Regions from separate parts of the Homo sapiens genome. Here all the other regions are linked to region 5. Evidence: promoter capture Hi-C in 16 types of primary human blood cells and fetal thymus (Javierre and others, 2016). All regions are on one chromosome and are shown on one strand. The core of a region is centred on a gene start or on the middle of the fragment in contact, and the rest is flanking DNA. Distances in the headings are between cores, read along the strand shown. Region 1 overlaps LPP (LIM domain containing preferred translocation partner in lipoma). Region 2 overlaps LPP (LIM domain containing preferred translocation partner in lipoma). Region 3 overlaps LPP (LIM domain containing preferred translocation partner in lipoma). Region 4 overlaps LPP (LIM domain containing preferred translocation partner in lipoma). Region 5 holds the start of BCL6 (BCL6 transcription repressor). Region 6 overlaps LPP (LIM domain containing preferred translocation partner in lipoma). Region 7 overlaps LPP (LIM domain containing preferred translocation partner in lipoma).

Region 1 (2,700 bases), core at 124-2,623, 980 kb before region 5:
CAGAAAGCACTTATAGTAATTCTAATTCACCCCACCTAAGACAGAGATGGACATATCATAGGCTCTGCATAAATATTTACTTAAACCAAATAACCTTATAATCTACTGTGTCATTAGTAGACATACCAACTCACTAGAGAAGGGAGATCACATAAAATCTGGAAGATAATTTGCTTGCTGGGTTTCACCATCTCTGTTATTTGTTCAGTTATCAAAGGAACAGAAATTGAAAACAGACACAAAAAAGCTATGCAACCCACAAATCTACTATGAAAATGTGTATTCCATATTGATGAGCTGTTTCTTAACTAAACGAAGTGAATAGGTATAGATCTGCATAATATAATAAGCTTATTATCTCTTGGTCAACTGGTTTGTTGTAGGATCCCAGGCAAATTAATCACTCTCTTCTTTTGTATTACTCCAGAACCATCAAATAACATAGTGCATTCTACAAAGGCAGTTTTAAGGAATAAACAAGAAAATCACTTAACATTATAAGTCAAAAGACGCAGGTTCTTTTGCAGATAGTTATAAGTGACATTTTAAAAATCTTTAGAAAGTGATTGTCACTCTTCATTCTGTTTTCATGTTTGTGATGTAAGATTGGACTAGATCAGTAATTGTCAACTTTTTTTGTTATCTCATCACACGTGGGGTATGGCACACTCCATCAGCTAAATTTTCTCCGAGTAATAATATTTTCTCAGTGGATCTAGGGTTATGTCAGTAGATCAGAGTTTCATTGTAAATACAAGGTAGATGTGTGTGGGTGTGTAGTTTTGAATGTGATAAAGCTCCCCCAGGTGATTCTGAGTCTTTATGCTGAGAACCAAGAAACTCCTCAGGTTTCCTCCAGCCTTAACAATCTATGATCTTATAATTCTATGAATGAGTATTAGGAATGACACAGAAAGGATAGCAGTGTAAAATGCAGACTGGTTGCAGAATATAGTAGCTAGTTGAGAAAAGCATCCTCATTAAAAATAGGTATTTGCTGAGCAAAAAGAACAGAGACTTGGCTTATGAAGATCTAGGCTCTTGATATCCGTATAACCTTGGACAAGGTACTGAACTGCCTAAGACTCAATTTTCTCATCTGAAAAATCCGGATATGAATGCTTACCTGTTGTGAGCATTAAGTAAGACCAGCTATGTGAAGTGTTCAGCATGCTGCTTGGCACATGGTCAATGCTCAATAAGTGGCTGTCAACAATTATGAGGCCCATTTGTGTTAGACATACATATATGAATAAGTGTCCCTGTCTTTCAAGGTTAGGGTTCTATTTCTGGTGTAGAATTTTACATAACTCTTCTCTAGACTGGATTGTCTAGAACTTCTATGAATGAAATAAATATCAAAGTTATTTTAATATATTTTATAATTATTCAGTGACCCAAGAAAAGTATTTAATATTTCAACATCTTAACTGGAAATCATCTTAACTAAAACACAGAATATCTTACCCGTGGTCATCACCAGAAATTGGTCTGAAGTTTATGTTCAAATACACAAAACCTAAGTAGCCTGTATCATAACGTTTCAATACTCTCAGTACTGCTGAACATTAACTGTGTGTCAGCCCACATCTGTAAGTAATTTGCATGTATTATTAACTTATTTAATCCTCCAAAACCCCCTATCACAGACACTTTTATAATCATCCCTACCTTGCAAATGAGCAAACTGTTGCAAAGAGAAGCAAAACTTGCTCAAGGTTACTGTGGCAAAGTGGAAATTCAGACCCAAGCTACTTTGGGCTTTTCTGGGATGGTGATAAGGGTAAGATCCTTAGACATGAAGTTAGAGCACCTAAATTGTAGACCTACCTGTGTGTCCTTGAATAACTGACTTCCTTGCTCGGCTGAAGGTTTTTCTGCCTAAACTAAGAGATTTGGATTAAATCTAAGGTCCCATTCTGTGACTTTCTAATTCAAACTACACAGCATTTTGAATGATAAGAATTTGTGTCTGAGAAAGCTCCCTTTTTTGATATTTACTTTTTTTAGCTGCTGTTTTCTTTTGTTTTTCCTGGCATGTGTTATGTTGGCAACACAAACTATTATGCCTACATCTATGTGCTTGTAAATGTTTATGTTGCTATTGCTGTTTATTTGCCTTGTTTACGAGAAATAATAATTCATCAAACAAACAAAAAATGGAAAAGAAACAAAATTAGGCAGACCAGATTTCACCCATAATAGAGACCTCACAATTATAGCGGTCACACTATTCACCATAATACTTCCACTCCAATACCACTGTATCACTCACTATCCCTTTCTCCTGCATAATTTTCTCAATAGGATATACTGCTATCTGACCTGCTATGTATTTTATTTATGTGTCATCATTTTCTTCTCACTGGAATGTAAGCCCCATAAAAGAAGCTTTTCATCTGCTGTAGCACCAATGCTTAGAACAGTGTGTACACACAGCAAGTGCTCAATAAGTATTGATAAAGAGAGGATCTCTGTGGACTGATGGCATCACCATTACTGAACTCCTTCTCTTTTTCTCACATCACTTAGTGATGTCATTACCCACCCAAGATAGAGGCCCAGGAATAAGTCTCAGCCCATCCCTCTTACGCCCCTTTGAAACCCTTCTCTAAATTGTCACAAGATGACTATCTTGGTTCCAGCCCTTATTCCCCTTAGACAAGTACAAATGACACCCAGACTGATCTTCATCCCCCA
Region 2 (2,700 bases), core at 7-2,506, 950 kb before region 5:
CTAGGCTGAGCTGGGGGAAAGTGAGGTCTCTCCACACCCACCTCTCTCCGTCTCCACGTGTCAAGGCAGCTATAATAGTGCCTGGGCTTGGAGCATCTGGCTCTTAGGCCTGATGTCTAAGATACTACTTAAGTTCTCCAGTGATTTCTTTTTCTATTGTTGATTTTCTCATATATAAACTGGAGAATAATAATATCTGATTCATATGAAGAAGCTTTGTAACATATTAAATATCAAATAGATGTCAGTTATAATTATCAAGAGGGACAACTTAGAAACCACTAACAAAGATGATTTTCTTCTTGGAAGCAGAATGTTTGCAGAATGAGATCTCTCCAGTAACTCTCCACTTTTCCATCTGCTGATAAAGGACTTCAGTGTAGTGTACCCGAATTTCACATTAATTGTTGCTTTAGCAAGGGATGTAATTACTCTGAGTACTTTTTAGCTACAAATCTTGAAATTCATGCCATTTGGTGAACGTATGCCTTGCTGCCTCTCCAACTATTAATTCTTGTACAGTCTCGCCTTTAGGACCAAAAGACAAATAGTAAAGTAAAGCTCATGCTTGGCTATTTAGAGCAGAGCAGCCTCCCTTAGGCTTCGGCAGACAAGGTACAACCACTGATGTTATCCTGCCGGGTAGGCAAGAAGTAAGAAAAGCGAGTCGCAGAGCAGAAGCGCCAAATCCTCAGAGTCGAGGAGAATCTAGGTCAAAGATCTCCTGCCAACCTTATTCACAGTTCTCATTTCAGGGTTCCTTCCCTCTAAACCTCCATGCGGGCCCTCCGTAAAGGAGAAAGCGAGTTTTCTCGGTGGGGTGAGAAGATCTCTATTTGTGTGAAACTAAAAGAACCTATTTCCACAATGTTATGGCTAAAACATACACTCAGTTTTTCCCATTAATTAGGCTTTATGGATGTTATATATTAGAGATTTGACATAATAAAGGCAAGAGAATTCCAAGACATTATTTCCATTGGATGGCTTCACCTAGGCAAGACCCATGACCTAAAAGTTTGATGAATAGAATGAACCATTATTCAAGGTTGGGTTTTCAAACTAAAACCATATTTTGGCCTTTGCTGTGCCCCACATGCCTGGCAGTGACTCCAGGCACACGTTTCATCTTCATTTGGTTGCCTGGAAGAATGCAATGGGCTAGTTGCTCTAATGTCGGGAAAAAAAGGTTTTATCACCATGCACAGCTTTCTATGCATTGTCCCATAGAAAAACTATCCTCAATTACAAGCTACAGTTTTAATAAAGCACTATCAAAAAGACGGCACAGAGTTTCGGTTGCCACGGCTCCAGCCCTGACTGGTTCTAATTTCCTGTCTGCTCAAAATAAGATTTTATTAATCTGTTATTTTAGATACTTGGATTGTCATAATTCTTGCCATTATAGTGCCAAAAAATAAGAAGATATGAAAATAGTACATCTGATAATTACAAATGTATAAAAATATATATGCAAAAGGGCCAGTATATGTTAGCCTATGTAAGTATTATCAAACAGCTACTAGAAGTGAATATATCCAAATGTTAACAAGACTTATGTCAGGATTGTGATATTATGATTAATTTGAGTTTTTCTCTTTATAATTTTAAAATTATCTAAACAGAATATTATAAAAATGGATAGCTCTTAGAAAATAACAGGAAACATACTTTATAAAACATGGGGTTCCAGACTTTTCTTTAGTATTTTCAGGTATGAACCTAGGAGAGATTGGAGAGCCCAAAGTGTGGACAAGTTGCTGATAAAAATAAGGCACCTAGATTTTCAGTCTGATATGCATAAAAACACTTTCCTACTGTACAAGCTGTTTCTGTCTAGTGGGCTTGACAGATGCCTGAACGTGACACAAGACACTGAAATAACATGCAAATCAGTTTTCGGTTTTAATATGCAAATATGACGCTTGGCACATCACTTTCCATGGCGAGGTAAATTTCTGTTTTTGAGTTTTTCGTGGGAAATGCAAACCAGCAAACAAATGGTTAACTCCCCATCTTTCACCTAACACAAGGTGGTTTTCATTTGAGTCAGAGCGGTTCTGGCTCAGCAATCCAAGACACTTAGGATGCAAAGAAAGGGCATGTGTTTTGTTCAATAACAATGCCACCCTAGGCAAGCAATCCTACCTTCTGACAGACACACCGATCACACTGAATTTTTGGGCCTCAGCAGGGAGGCAGACAAAGTGCCTAAGTGAAAATAACAAGAACATGTTTTTTTGCTTGACCAGTGAAAATCAAATCAAAGTATCTCAACATGGTAAGAAGATAAGCTTATAGCCAAAGAAGAGAAAAAAGTCAAGGGTCCTTGTTTCTAGAGTACACGAGCAGTGTAGCAAACTATAGCCTCCTATGAAATCTATATTAAATTATCCACAAATAATAGTAATTAATTAGGCATTAAAGCAGTCATCAAAATGAGTGAGATGCAACCAGTTCATAGAATTTATAATCCAGTCAGGAAATCAAGGTATATGAAGGAGAAATAAAAGAACAAAGCAAAAAATTGAACGTTGATAGTAATCAGTATGCCTTAGATATATAGGTTCTAGGGTCTGCTTACTTGGGTTCAAATCCCACATCCACAGCTTACCAATTGTATGATCCAGTGCAGGATGCTGAATTTTACTACCTATTAGTTATTTCAAAAATAAAATGGGGTAAATAGAATTTACTTTG
Region 3 (2,807 bases), core at 10-2,509, 760 kb before region 5:
TTTCACTACAAAAAAAAAAAATTCCCATATTTATTTTTTCCCCCTTTCGAAATGGCACTAAGGAAACACATGCCAGACTGCCATGAACAGAGGCTGTACTTTCCAAACAGTAGCAAGGACTAAAAATAGAAAAGCTTGATTTGCTCAAGATGTATATAACTTCCTCTCCCATTTCCTCTCCCCACCACCCTGAGTCAGTATACAGAAGCAGTGCACAATGAACCCTTTGCATGCTTACAACAACCCCAAAAGCATCAAAAGGGTGATAAGTATACAGACTTCATAGTCCTTTCCCAGAGAATTCCTATTGCACAGTCGAAGAAAGAATAGATCAATCAAGCCACAAATATCAATCAAGTAGCTATTCTATCTTCTCGCAATAAAATAAAGGTTATGGGCCGGGCGTGGTGGCTCATGCCTGTAATCCCAGCACTTTGGGAGGCCGAGGTAGGTGGACCACGAGGCCAGGAGATCAAGACCATCCTGACTAACACAGTGAAACCCCGTCTCTACTAAAAATACAAAAAATTAGCCAGGTGTGGTGGTGGGCGCCTGTAGTCCCAGCTACTTGGGAGGCTGAGGCAGGAGAATGGCGTGAACCCGGGAGGCGGAGCTTGCAGTGAGCCGAGATTGCGCCACTGCACTCCAGCCTGGGCAACAGAGCAAGACTCCATCTCAAAAAAAATAAAATGAAATGAAAATAAAGGTTATGGGTGATACAGAAATATGGGTTGTGATCCTGCCTTCAGGCAATTGCTAAAATAAATGAACAAGAAGGTAATGGAAAGAGCAGAGGCCTGGGAGTCCAGAAATCTCTAGTTGTGGTTAGGACCAGCTCTCCTAGTAACTGTGTCACCATGAACAGTTCACTTAAGAAATTTAGGCTCCAGTTTCCTCATCACAAGAAAGGGCAGAGGGGTTAGGACCATGTCAAATCTGGTGCTCTACGATTTGTGATTTTAAATAATTTCTACAAGTCTCCCATGTTATTTTATGATTCTGGCTTATAAAATAAAGTTTGGTGGCAAGATTAATGTACATGCAATGATTACATTACCCCACAAAAGGGTATATATTAAGTGGCAGAAAAAATCAAACAGCATTAATAAATCTATTTATTAACTGACTCATAGTAGCCTTTACTCTGAACCAGCAGTTGTTGGATACTCTACATTATCTTAATTAGTCCTCAAAATAACCTTCTAAAAATTGTTATTAATATCCTCATTTTTGCATGTAAAGATGGGAAATGCAGTGATAAGCAACAGAGCAGGGTTTCTTAGCCCTAAACCCTGGGCTCATGCCACCACATCACATGACTCAATCAAAAGACTGAGGATGCAGAGAAGAGAGAGATCAAGATGATCCAGTTGTCAGACACGTATGAGTAAAATAGTAGAGTTAGGCTTCTAAAAATGAGGATATGAGGGTTCATCAGGTATTGAGAAAGACACAAGAAAAATTGGCTTGGCATATGAAGCTGACAATGACGATATGAGCTTCAAAAGAGCAAGGACTGTATAAAAAGGACAGTGGGAGATACAGTGTGCTACATAGGATGAGGTAGGTCATAGAGTACTCTGAAAAATAAACCAAGAGGAGAAATTTAATGTGGAAAAGCCAAAGGAAGAAAATAATATTTTTTAAACCACTAAGTGGTTACAGATATGCAGTTGGAATGTGAAAAAGATAGAATGAAGGCAATGAGTAGGTTGTAACCCAGAAGATATGAACTAGGATGATGGGCAAGAAAATAAAGAGATTGAAATAATCCTGTAAGCCTTGGTGATAGATATACAAAGAAAGCAAGATATATCATCAATGAACACGATTTAGTTGGCAAGACTAGAAAATATAATGGTATGTCTAACAGAATGTAAGCCTTTGAGTAAGATGATGAGTAGAATTAGGGATACATTGAAAGTGAAAAGGCAGGTGTTATCTATGAAAAGATCTCATGGATAAATGAAACAAAACTTGTCAAAGGAAAACACAGTACCAAGTCACAAGCAGTTCAAATAATTAGATAAAGAAAGATCAAAGTTGATCTTATTAGAGTAGTGACATCTACTGAGAGAAAACGGAAGGTCAAAGTGAGAACTCTGAGTGGGAACCTAAATTTAGAGACAGGGAGAAAGGAGGAGGGGGTGGTAAAGAAGGGAGAAAAGGAATAGTTGCAGGCATGGCAGAGGAATTAAGGAAGTTAGTTCTGCTTAGTAAAAATCGAAGGAAGTGAAAGGGATTCTGAGAATATGGCAAAGCAGGAGGCACCACAAATCTGTCTTTCCACCTAGACAACGATTGCACTGCCACCATCTATATCAACAACTTATTTTGGAAGTCCAGAGTCTATTAAAGGAGTCTACTTTCTGGAGGGAAGCTTTAGATGGTAAGTTGTGGTTAATTTAGGTAAAGTTTACATCTCAGCACAATAGCAACTACCTATACCCCACCTCTTAGATCCTTGGCAGGCATCTGTGCACATGTACTTGAAGCAGCTTGCATACAGCTTACATGATCCAAGCTGGGCAAAAAGGACCTGTCTTCCATATATCAAGGATCTGTGGACTGAACATTAATTGCTGCTTTTAATCACACACATAAAGAAAAAGGGGCAACTATCATTAGTGTTGCCCCTCTCACTCCAGCTGAAGTGACTTCCATGGGACTCAAAAGGCCAGTCCTTTTTTTTTTTTTCTTCCTTTATTTTTTACTTTTTCTCATTTTGGGAGACAGACCTTGATAACCAGGGCATTTGAAAACAACAGAGGAAATGAGAAAGTCATGGCACATAACCAGGGAAACAT
Region 4 (2,700 bases), core at 120-2,619, 910 kb before region 5:
AACACTTCTTCAAATGTTTCAAAAACAAAACACTGGTTACTCATTCGTTGTCACTGTCACTGTGTTGATTGATAAACAAATATGTCAAGTAATCCCAACACAGTCACAAAGTTCTAAGGTTAATAGGAATATTAAGATGACACATATCTGAGCTGCACCATTATGTATTTTTATGTGTCACTTTTCAGTTTACAGTATCTACTCTAACAATGTTATAAGAGAGGACCAACGCTGTAAGAGTACTATGAGCATGCATATTTACAAATGGAAGAATCTGTAAGAGTATTATCATAGAAGTGGTGTTTTTGAGCTTAGCCAACTTATATATATTTTTAAAGGTATTCTCTATAGAGAAACAATTGTATTAAAAGCAGAGGGATGAATGTAACGGGTTAGTGTGCTTGGGGACTAGCTCTTTGTTTAGGTTGGACAAACTATGGATATCATGAAGAAATATGGGGTAAAAAGACTAGAAAGGCTAAGAAAAAAAGGCCCATAGATATCAGGCTCTGGAGTACAGACCTAATCCCATAGCCATGGGAAGCTGTTCAAAGATAAACTCACGAGTAGCAAACTGACAAAACCAAAATAAAAAGAGCATATCAAATACGCAGAATCCACTGGTAATGCTAAATTTATACCAGCCTGTGATCAATGATTTATAATGTCGAGGAAAGCCAAGTATAGCAAATAACATAAGGGCAAAAATTTTGAAATTAAAGTTGTAATGACACTCACAGAATTCTTTGCCTTTTTTATACATTTTTTATCCATATCAAAGTGAAACAACTGTAGTAAATGTACTATACTATCTGCTTTTGGAAATATATATATATATATATATATACACCTTGACAGCTCTTGAAAACTTATACATCACTACAGTATTACAAAGAATGTGCATGCTCGAGGGGAAAGAGGAAAAAAATAATTGAATTCAGATATAGTCTCCTTAGACAACTTAAAACCCCTAAACAATTCAGCAATTAATAAAATACCTAAAGACCAGCAAAATGTTCCATGGAAATGGGCCAATGTGGACTCTATTTGGAAAGCCCTGTGAGAAAGTAGGGATCAAATATTATCTTCAAAGGAGGTAACAGAATATCCTTTTCAAGAGCTACTGAATGAGTGGTTAGCTAGAAGTGGTATCATGTAGTAGGAAGAACAAGGGATATTGGAAAGCTTGAATTCTCACTTCATAATTTACTAGTCCTGTGACTGTGAGCTGGTCCCTTCTCTAATCCTGTTTCCTCATCTCTTTCACAGAGCTATTGGGCAGCCCTCAGTGGCATGCTGTGCAATGCCAATGTTAGGTATTACTCACTATTATTCCTTCAAGCCAGAAGGCTTCAGAGAACCTGCATTTCAAATGGAGGAAATGAGTGTGATGTGCTTACAATCACAAATCCAGTCAGTGGGAAAGTCATGTTAAGAGCAAGAACTCCCAAATCCCTCCAGATTTAACCACCAGGAAATGGGTCACCTGTCAGTAGTACAAGAAGGACACTGTCTGATGTGATTTGCTACAATTTGGCAAAAACAGAAGCTTAGCCACAAGGCCTTGGCAGGTGAGCAGAAAGGTTGTTGCTGGTTTTTTCCAACACTTTGTTTTTAAATGTAATTGTTTGTTTGCTTTTTTTGAGTCTACACAATCTGTTCTTTGATTTGGGATCTCAAACAGTTTGCGATTGCTTCACGGCTTTGAAGATCAACTTTAAGAAATGAAACCAACTTGCTGTCACAGGCTGTGAGCTTGAAGGCAGCCAATATTTGCAGACATAGCATGTGGAAGGAGGCAGTCAGGTTTGTCTTCAGAACCCTTCCTCTGAGGCCTGGCAGCACCTGGGAGCGCCTGGGCACAGACCTTCTTTCTAAAATCAAAGTGTTTTTTTTTTTTTTTTTTCCTTTTGGAGACTGAGTTTCGCTATTGTTGCCCAGGCTGGAGTGGAATGGCGTGACCTCGGCTCACTGCAACCTCCACCTCCTGGGTTCAAGCAATTCTCCTGTCTCAGCCTCCTGAGTAGCTGGGATTACAGGCATGCACCACCATGCCTGGCTATTTTTTTTGTATTATTAGTAGAGACGGGGTTTCACCGTGTTGGTCAGGCTGGTCTCAAACTCCTGACCTCAGGTAATCCACCCACCTTGGCCTCCCAAAGTGCTGGGATTACAGTTGTGAGCCACCGCAACTGGCCCAAAGTGTTTTTTTAATGTGAGATTAGCACCGCTTGCACCTTGTATAAGGAAGCACTGAAGTCACTGGTAAGAGCTGCATATGGTAGGTTTTGACTGAAAAGTTCAAAATGGTATCAGGATTATTTAATTTAAATAAACTTGTGTATAGACCAATTCTCTCTATTCTATAGTAGATTTCTAGTAGATATCCTCCTTGATCCTTGGAGAAGAACTCATTGAACTTCTGAAATTTAAGAAAACTTAAGGTTGGAAACAACCTTCATGGTGATCTATTCAACCCAGAGATCTGCTTCAGTTGGTGACTAAATCCCCAGTGTAATGTTCCAGCATCCCCAGGGGTGATAATCACACTATCTTCAAAATAAAATCGTCATTGAGATAATCCATGCTTCTTCCATGCATCTTCTACCCAGCATCGTTATATTGTGATATTGATTAAGCAATCTCCCTAATTCTGTCTGCCAATTTTCTCTTAATCCTTTTCTAAAACCCGCCTTATGC
Region 5 (2,701 bases), core at 126-2,625:
GTGGCAGTCTGTTCTAAATACAGGCAGTATCTGTGATACTGGCACGGCAGGCCTTTAGAATTCCCTCCGGCTGATCTCTTAAACACAGACTGAAGAGATTTTTTTACAACGACCTTGAAACGAGCCTCGAAAACAAAAATCTCAAGACCTTAAGAGAAAACAAAACACAAACAGGTATTTGGCTCACAGAATTTTGTAGAAAACACACACATACCACCCCGCCACCCCCACCCTCCCCCCCACACACACGTTTCTTGCAACAAGAAATTTCCCAAGAGTCAACAATAACAGATTAAACCCACCACTTGCTGTCCTGGAAAGAAACAAACCAAACCAAAACAAATCCTTTGAACATTTCTCTGAAGTGCAGGAGAGACACACTTCAGCAAAAGTCCAAGGGGGAAAAAGAAAATTGCACCAAAGGAAAAAAAAAAAAAAAAAGTGGGGGCTGGGATTGTTACATATGGCCAAAAATTTAAGCTTCTTTCAATAGTATTAGTATTGAAATAATACATCTTTAAAACGCTTGAGGGATTAGATAGGGAAAGAAAAGGCACGTACAAAAAAATCCAACCGATGCCGATCCTGTGATTTACGTAACACCACAAACTTGCAAAAGGCAAAAAATCAGAAGCAAAAATCCATAAACCATCAAAATACAGAAACCAAAAATCCCAAGCCACCACACCAGAAAGAAAAAAACCCAGAACAACAGCAAAAACCCCTGTCCTAAATAAAAATAAAGCAAATGAACCCACCGAAAACTGCTTGGCAAATATTTTTCTCGTGGTGCCTAATATTCTAGTTGGAAAGAGCTGTGATGTTTATTTTATTTTATTTTTCTCTTACTCGCCTCTCTAACCCTACTATATATATAACATACTTTTCCCAGTGGTTCAAACCTCTCGCTCCCTTTTGTGCATTTAGCTCGATCTGCTGAGTTTATGGGTAAGAAAGAAGGAATTAGCCCCAGACCCCGGGAAAGCAAAGCGCACTCCCCCTCTTATGTCACCGAATAGCAAATTAGTTCTCAGAATTCCAGAGGCCGAGCTTTGCTACAGCGAAGGCGCCGACGTCACAGAGGAGGAGCCCACGTGATGGTGGCGGAGCAGGCCATACCATCGTCTTGGGCCCGGGGAGGGAGAGCCACCTTCAGGCCCCTCGAGCCTCGAACCGGAACCTCCAAATCCGAGACGCTCTGCTTATGAGGACCTCGAAATATGCCGGCCAGTGAAAAAATCTTGTGGCTTTGAGGGCTTTTGGTTGGCCAGGGGCAGTAAAAATCTCGGAGAGCTGACACCAAGTCCTCCCCTGCCACGTAGCAGTGGTAAAGTCCGAAGCTCAAATTCCGAGAATTGAGCTCTGTTGATTCTTAGAACTGGGGTTCTTAGAAGTGGTGATGCAAGAAGTTTCTAGGAAAGGCCGGACACCAGGTGATTATTGCTGTTGCTGCCGCCGCTGCTGCTGCTACTGCCGCCGCCGCCGCTGTTGCCGCTGGTGCCGCTGCCGCCGCCGCTGCTCATGATCATTATTTTACCTTTTAATTCTTTTTTTTTCCGCTCTTGCCAAATGCTTTGGCTCCAAGTTTTCTATGTGTATCTATTGATATAAATGTATATATTTATTTATTCTAGCTGTCAGGTGTTAAAATAAATGCCGAAGATTAGTCCCACGTCTCTCCCACCATAGGATATAGATTGTTATGTATTTATTATTATTATTGTTGTCTTTGAGTGAATCGGCCGGTTTGGGGAGGCTTTTGCCACCCTCCCTTGTGTTGTTTTGGTTTTTGGAAAGGAGGTGGAGGAGAGGAAGGAGGGGAATTAGGGGGCGGCCGGAGCAGAGAGGACGAGACAGTGCTTGGGGGGTGATTCGGGCTAGTCTGGGGGCTGTCTGGCCCCAGACCGCGGAGAGGACGCGCGCTCGCGCTCTCGCTCTTTCTGCTGCTGCTTGCGTACGGCTTGTGATCTCTCTGGATTCGTGCGGCTGTGTTTTTTCCCTCTTTTCTCGCTTGCAAACTGCTTTCCTTGCTCCGTCGCTCCTGGCCTCCGCTTCCCTCCCTCCTCTTTTTCCTCGCCTCTTCTTCCTTCCCTTCCCCTGTCCTTCTGGGTAACTCCGGGAGGCAAAAAGGGAGGCTGCCCGCTCGCTCGCCCCGCTGGCTCTCTTCCATCGGCCTCGGTCTTTTAGATTCCCTGCCTTCGAGCCGAACCGAGATTTGGAAGGAAAAAATGCAAGCGAACTCTTTGGGTTTTTGTTTTTGTTTTTTTGGTCATAAATCCAGATGAGATGAAGTATCGTGTCTACTATTTCCTTTCAGAGCCGTGATCTTCCTAATGAGAGCCGAGTGTTTTGGTGTTCCCTGCCCCTGTGTTTTGGGGAGCTTGGGGGCGGGGATGTTGAACACTTTGAAAATTATTCTTTCTTGGTTGTAGTCGAGGGAGTCGGGAACCTCCGCGCGCTCTCCCTGCTCATCCCGAGGAGAGAGACTGATGGCGGGACAGGGCTTCTTGGGGTGGGTGGGAAAGGGGTGCGCACTGCACCTGCGATGCCTTTCAGTGTGCGGGGGGACTCAGGGAACCTCGACAGGACAGCCTGGGAGAACGAGAAAGGTGGCGGGATTTCTGGCCGCTGCGGTGTTTGTATTTTGGGCGCTGCGTGACTCTGTGTTGGCTCCCAATGGCTGTTGCCTCCCTTTCCTAAA
Region 6 (2,700 bases), core at 24-2,523, 930 kb before region 5:
CGATTCCACCAGAATACGGTGGTGACTGCTACCTATTTTTTTTAAAAACGTTTTCACTTTTCTAATATTTTTCCCTTAAAAATCTTTTTATCTATTACAGACCAAAGCCAATTCTCATTTAGAGACTAGTAATCTTTCATTTCCAGTATAGTAATCTTTCACCCCTAGGATTCTTTCTCTTAAATCAAAAAGAGGATTCCAATCACCAAAACTTAAAACAGAATTCCAATGTAAGAGAGAGGATTGCAGCAGTCGGGGCAGTACAAGAAAACACTAAAAATTAGGAACTCTGAAGACATGATTCCTGGGTGCTTTCTATAACAAAGTCAGGCTTCAACATTTCTGAGGAAAAAGAACATACCTTTTCTGATACATATTAAAATGGTTAATATATGCCTATGTAATGCAAATGAGCAATCAGAGCTCACTAAGAACTTTAGAATTATTAAATGTTGGAGTTGAAATAGAACTTTTTATTCATCCAGTTCAATCCCTGTAATTCCAGAAGGACATTTGGGGCCTGAACGGTTACATGACTTGTCTAAGGCTATAAAGCCACTCGACAGTAGAAATAGAACTAGAACAATGATATACTGGCTTCTAAGCTTAGCACAGATTACTACCAACACCCCTTGATGTGTTGTCCTTCATATACAAACATACATCATCCAGAAGGCATATACTTGAAGCTATTTCTCTAATTTGCTAGGAGCTATTCACAGTCTTAGCCCCACCATTCTTTATTTACTTCTTTGCTTTGTGTGTATGCGTGGTTTGTTTGTTTGGTCTACTTGTTGAGCAGTTAAGGAAGCCAACTAATGAAAAATGAAGATCCAGGCTAGCTGTCCAGATTTTGCCATACCTCAGGGCTTGCCGCAACCCACTTCATTCTGTCTGTGAGAACTTCCCAGTATACCCTAGCCCACACTGGCTTGACACACTGCTTCATCTCTACAAATGACTCTAATCAGTACCACAAGTCTGAACAGCTGTTATGTAATCGTTCAATTCCTCCATCTTTTCATTTACCTTCCAGCAGGGCTGGTCCTCTTCTTTTGTATTATACTCATAACTAAGGCTAATGCTGTGGGAGAAATTTCTTCAAAAAATTTCTGAATTACTCCTATGCCCTCGTAATCACAATTATTCCAAACAGGGCAGGATTAGAATGGCACCTAAAAAGTAATATTGCCAAGGACTTATGCAACACAATAGTAATATTCATTCACACACTTCTAGTTGCTAAAGCAGCATGCATGTCCTGTGATAATAAACTTTGAAGTAATAAATATGTCACAGCCTCGGAAGGTTCCAACACTTGATCTTCTGGATGGTCTTTCTATGAGGTGGAAAAAGCATAGACTTTGAAGTCAGAGATGCCTAGGTTCAAAGTTTAGCTTTGCACACCTACTCTCGTACAAGGTATTTAATATCTCTGGGCTCCAGATTCCACATTGCAAAATGAGATGGTAAACCTTATCTAGCAGGGTTATTATGAAGATTAAATGAGAAAATGTAAAGAAGAAACCCAGCCCAATGTTTGTTGAAAAGTAGGTACTTACATAATCGTTTTCCTTTGTTACCTTTACTAAAATCATGAGATTATGTGAATTCAGCTAGAGCTTCGGTGCAGCAGTGTTAACAAAACCAATTGAGGTTCCCAAATTAAACATTTCCTTATGTAAGTTACATTGTGGTATGCTAAAAGATTTAAAGGCGTGACTCTATACCCAAGGCAGATTGGAGAAGGAAGGAAAGCTAAGACATTCCTGTGATGAGTAAAAAGAGAAGAGAGAAAGAAGAGGAATTAGGCACAAAATGGTAAAAAATTTACTTTTCGTGTTTACAAAAACAAAGTTGGGAAACATAGAGTTGAAGAGCAGGAGAAGGAAAAATTGTCAGGGAAGTCAAAGGTAGGAGCTTTTGAGATATAAAGCTTCCATCTATGTTCTTTTTTAAATTGTTGCAACCCTAGTATCCCAGAGTGTACTGTGTGAAAACTTAACCAAGTATAACTAGTTCAGAATGTGGCCACTCAATAGGCAGAAGGGCTTTTAGGCAAATTCAGCAAAAAGCCAAGGGCTCAGCAGTATATTCCAGAAAGGTATTGTGTTTGTTATGACATGCCCAACAACAGTAAGTGCTTATAATGGGTTTGGAATGTTCTTCCCTACACTACAAAGGAGTAAGATGCAAATGACCCAGGGGGTATATTTCATCAGTCATCTCCTAGAGAGACAGAATCTTATGCAATCTTCTTTGAAAAAAAAAAAAACAAAAAAGAAAAAAATTACAGAGACAGAAAGAAAGGGACTCTACCCTTCCTTAAGAGACTGAGTATTGGTACTGCTCATATTCCAATTTTTCTCTTTTCAGTTACTCCAATAAGTCCCGCCTCTCCTTCCTCCAGTTTGGCTGGACAAGCTAAGTTTTCACATCATGCACTCAAAATGGGGAAGGAGAAACTTGTCCATTTTCTCTATGTCTGGAGGAGCAGGAAGAGCCACAGTATCCAGAATCATAGCTTCAGGGAGAGGAAGAATGGTCACGATCTACTGGCTAAATGAACTCTTAGCTGATACCTGAATCCTGAAAAATGCCCCCTACCCATAATGTTTTAAAAGTCTCAGAGAGACCAAAGCATGAGCCTAATTATGATTGATGTTGGTACTAATTAAAATGGGGAAGTATTGAGAAAGT
Region 7 (2,957 bases), core at 206-2,705, 790 kb before region 5:
AGAACACTTCACTTCTATTGATTGATTGATTGATTGATTGATTGAGACAGAGTTTTGCTCTGTTGCCCAGGCTGGAGTGCAGTGGCACAATCTCGGCTCACTGCAACCTCTGTCTCCTAGGTTCAAGCAATTCTCCTGCCTCAGCCTCTCGAGTTGCTGGGACTACAGGTGCATGCCACCACCCCCAGCTAAGTTTTGTTTGTTTGTTTGTTTGTTTGTTTTTAGTAGAGCTGGGGTTTCGCCATGTTTACCAGGCTGGTCTCAAACTCCTGACCTCAAGCAATCAACCTGCCTCAGCCTCCCAAAGTGCTGGGATTCCAGGTGTGAGATACCATGCCTGGACAGAACACTTTACTTCTGGCACTAAATGTGAGGGTTTTTTTCATACATCAACTGATTCTATGGTATCAGATGGGTGTTTTATGACTCAATTCAGTTCTGACACAATCTACCTGGAGTTACTATTACAGATCCCACAGGTTAAGGGTTCAAGTCCCACAAGACTGTTTCCACTTCATATGTCAATCACAAGCTGCGGTGGTGGGGCAGAGTAGGGGTGGTCACCAGTTACCCAGACTTCTGTCTGATTTGACTACAAATTGGGGTTTGCCATTATCCCCTTCCCAAGTTTGATAATATGCTAGAATTACTCATGAAACTCAGGGAAATGCTTACTTACATTTACTAGTTTATTATAGAGGATACGATAAAGGATAAAGATGGACAGGCAGATGATGAAGTGCACAGGGCTAGATCCAAAAGGGTCCTGGGTATAGGAGCTTCTGTTACCATAGAGTTGGGGTATGCCACCCTCCTGGCATAAAGATGTGCTTAACAACCTGAAACCTCTCTGCACTTCAGGGATTTTTATACAGACTTCAAAACATTCAAAACATAGGCATGATTTGTTATTCATTCAATCTCTAGCCCCTTTCTCATCCCCAGAGGATGAGAGGTGAAGATTAAACTTCCAAGCTTCAAATCATTGCTTGGTCATTCTGGTAACCAGCCAAAATCCAGGAGCCCACCAAGAGTTGCCTCATCAAAACAATAGATATTTCCATCACTCAGGAAATTCCACAGAATTCAGTAGCTCTGAGTCAGGAACCAAGGTCAATAACAAAATAATGTTAGAACAAAAGATGCTACCAGCACCCCTATCACCTAGGAAATTATAAGGATTTACAAACACTGATTCAGAAACTGGAGTAGAAAAATATATTTATATATTATTTCTTATTATTTCACAGTATCACACTAGTCTAAATGAGGATAGTGAAAGCCCATTTAATCAATTCAAAAGCAACTTGATTCACAAATTACTAAATCTCCAGCTACCATGAAATATTAACGTAAGACAGTTTATTTGAAAAGTGTTCCAAGTCACTCAGTCATCAGCTCCAATCCTACCAAACTTACTTGGGGAAAAAAAGACAGCCCTGTACTAGAAACTAGAAGATGAATACTGTACCCTAACTCTGATAAAAGAAGGAACACAAAAGTCATTAGTTCATGATTGATCTCTTGTCTTCTAAGAAATAGACAGAATTTCGTTCCAACCCCTGCATAGCTTCTAGAGGCTAAGCTGTACTTATACTAACAAATCATGCCTACCTAATGGGTTGGGTTTAGATATATACTAGCTTAAAGATGTTACAACGTCATAAGTTTTCTGTTTACCATTGAAGTACGTCTTTGATATGCCTAATTCTTTGTTATGTGTTTGAGACTTATTTTAAAGAAGACGCCATAAAAGAAAGACTTTTTGGAATAAACCAATTGTGATACTAAAGGAAACCAAACTCTCCCCTGGTCGTGGTTATCATCAAGCTGGGCCTTTGTGTCATAGTTCGGGGAAAATACAAAGAATCACTGAAACTGTCTCTAAATGAGCCTCCTTGAGTGTGTTCTTTCCCTCTCTGGGCAAAAGCTTTCCATCTGTAGAATAAGAGTTTGGCTAAGTGAGCTGGAAGGCCCACTAAAGCTCTGATATTCTATGATCACATTTTGTCTGCAATTCACTCCAGGATCACCTCTGAACTTTTCACATCTGTTCTTCTAAAACTACTCCCTGACAAACACATTTAAAATGTTTAGAAATTTTGGTTTCAAACACTAATGTAATTTAATTGCATAAATCCATGCAGCGTCATGGAGGATTTTTTTATAAAGTAGCTGTAAGCTAAAGTCATTACTCCAAAATCACTGCAGCCAGTAACACTGTTGCTATCCCCCTGTAAATTTCTCTTTCTAACAATGAAAGCCCTTGGGCATCAAAAGGGCTACTTAGGTACTGCTAAGTAAGTTTGAGTTTTTCAGCAGTAATCCCATTTACACTTTACATACCCCATTAGACAAACTTATTCTTCAAATAATATTCACTTTCCACGTTCCTTGACTTTCTCACTCTTGTTATTCTTGCACCTTGAATCCCATGCCCTTCCCGTAACACTTTAAGCCAAGTTAGCTCAAATACTGCCTGCTCTACGCAGTCCTCTCTGACACTGAAAGGTATAAGGTACAATGTTGGTATTCCTGTATTTTATCTCCCAATAATTTTGACACGTGGTGATTTACGTGACAATTTAAGTAGCACATTGAAGCCCTTCTCCTGTGTCCCTTTGGGTTACTTACGGGCTTATCTCTTCTGTAAGATTAAATATCACTCTAAAGGAAAGACCTGTTGATACTAACCTTTAAATCTCCAATGACTGATCCAGAGGAGGATCTCATCAAATGTTAGGTGAATGAATCAATGAATCAATGAATATGTGGAATTAAGCCAAATTTCCAAAATCAATATAGGGATTAGTAAGTGAACATAACTAAAGTCAGAAAATTTGGGAGCGGAAAATACTCCCTAGAATAAAAGGAAGAAAATGCTTTAGCAAAACCTATTTTCAAGAGCTCACATTTTTCAGACTTGTTTTGAGAATGGAGCTCCTTGGAACCTCTTA

Evidence for each region. The method cuts DNA at HindIII sites, captures the fragments that hold promoters and counts their contacts. A CHiCAGO score of 5 or more calls a contact.
Region 1: a fragment that was not itself captured here is called in contact with the fragment with the promoter of BCL6 in region 5 in 5 of 17 cell types (naive CD4 T cells, naive B cells, total CD4 T cells and 2 more); the score reaches 6.4 in naive CD4 T cells.
Region 2: a fragment that was not itself captured here is called in contact with the fragment with the promoter of BCL6 in region 5 in 1 of 17 cell types (M1 macrophages); the score reaches 5.3 in M1 macrophages.
Region 3: a fragment that was not itself captured here is called in contact with the fragment with the promoter of BCL6 in region 5 in 7 of 17 cell types (M1 macrophages, M0 macrophages, M2 macrophages and 4 more); the score reaches 25.3 in M1 macrophages.
Region 4: a fragment that was not itself captured here is called in contact with the fragment with the promoter of BCL6 in region 5 in 1 of 17 cell types (M2 macrophages); the score reaches 5.4 in M2 macrophages.
Region 6: a fragment that was not itself captured here is called in contact with the fragment with the promoter of BCL6 in region 5 in 2 of 17 cell types (M1 macrophages and erythroblasts); the score reaches 5.6 in M1 macrophages.
Region 7: a fragment that was not itself captured here is called in contact with the fragment with the promoter of BCL6 in region 5 in 1 of 17 cell types (endothelial precursors); the score reaches 5.4 in endothelial precursors.

What each region holds. Positions count from the first base shown.
Region 1 is chr3:188,726,176-188,728,875 of GRCh38, reverse strand. The region is part of intron 8 of LPP (LIM domain containing preferred translocation partner in lipoma); the gene reads right to left. Among named protein-coding and RNA genes, the nearest start is that of MIR28, 39 kb to the right of the region's middle. The HindIII fragment of the contact is 2,041 bases long and covers 353-2,393 here.
Region 2 is chr3:188,696,603-188,699,302 of GRCh38, reverse strand. All of the region lies in intron 7 of LPP (LIM domain containing preferred translocation partner in lipoma), which reads right to left. Among named protein-coding and RNA genes, the nearest start is that of MIR28, 9.2 kb to the right of the region's middle. The HindIII fragment of the contact is 2,080 bases long and covers 217-2,296 here.
Region 3 is chr3:188,504,686-188,507,492 of GRCh38, reverse strand. All of the region lies in intron 5 of LPP (LIM domain containing preferred translocation partner in lipoma), which reads right to left. Among named protein-coding and RNA genes, the nearest start is that of LPP-AS1, 63 kb to the left of the region's middle. The HindIII fragment of the contact is 2,246 bases long and covers 137-2,382 here.
Region 4 is chr3:188,655,406-188,658,105 of GRCh38, reverse strand. All of the region lies in intron 7 of LPP (LIM domain containing preferred translocation partner in lipoma), which reads right to left. Among named protein-coding and RNA genes, the nearest start is that of MIR28, 32 kb to the left of the region's middle. The HindIII fragment of the contact is 364 bases long and covers 1,188-1,551 here.
Region 5 is chr3:187,744,142-187,746,842 of GRCh38, reverse strand. BCL6 (BCL6 transcription repressor) reads left to right here and starts at 1,375. Exons shown (of 10, transcript NM_001706.5): 1 at 1,375-1,433. It overlaps BCL6-AS1 (BCL6 antisense RNA 1), which reads right to left. Exons shown (of 2, transcript NR_173091.1): 2 at 817-1,599. RefSeq lists an enhancer at 1,737-2,262. The HindIII fragment of the contact is 3,720 bases long and covers 483-2,701 here.
Region 6 is chr3:188,673,468-188,676,167 of GRCh38, reverse strand. The region is part of intron 7 of LPP (LIM domain containing preferred translocation partner in lipoma); the gene reads right to left. Among named protein-coding and RNA genes, the nearest start is that of MIR28, 14 kb to the left of the region's middle. The HindIII fragment of the contact is 1,331 bases long and covers 608-1,938 here.
Region 7 is chr3:188,529,511-188,532,467 of GRCh38, reverse strand. The region is part of intron 6 of LPP (LIM domain containing preferred translocation partner in lipoma); the gene reads right to left. Among named protein-coding and RNA genes, the nearest start is that of LPP-AS1, 38 kb to the left of the region's middle. The HindIII fragment of the contact is 955 bases long and covers 978-1,932 here.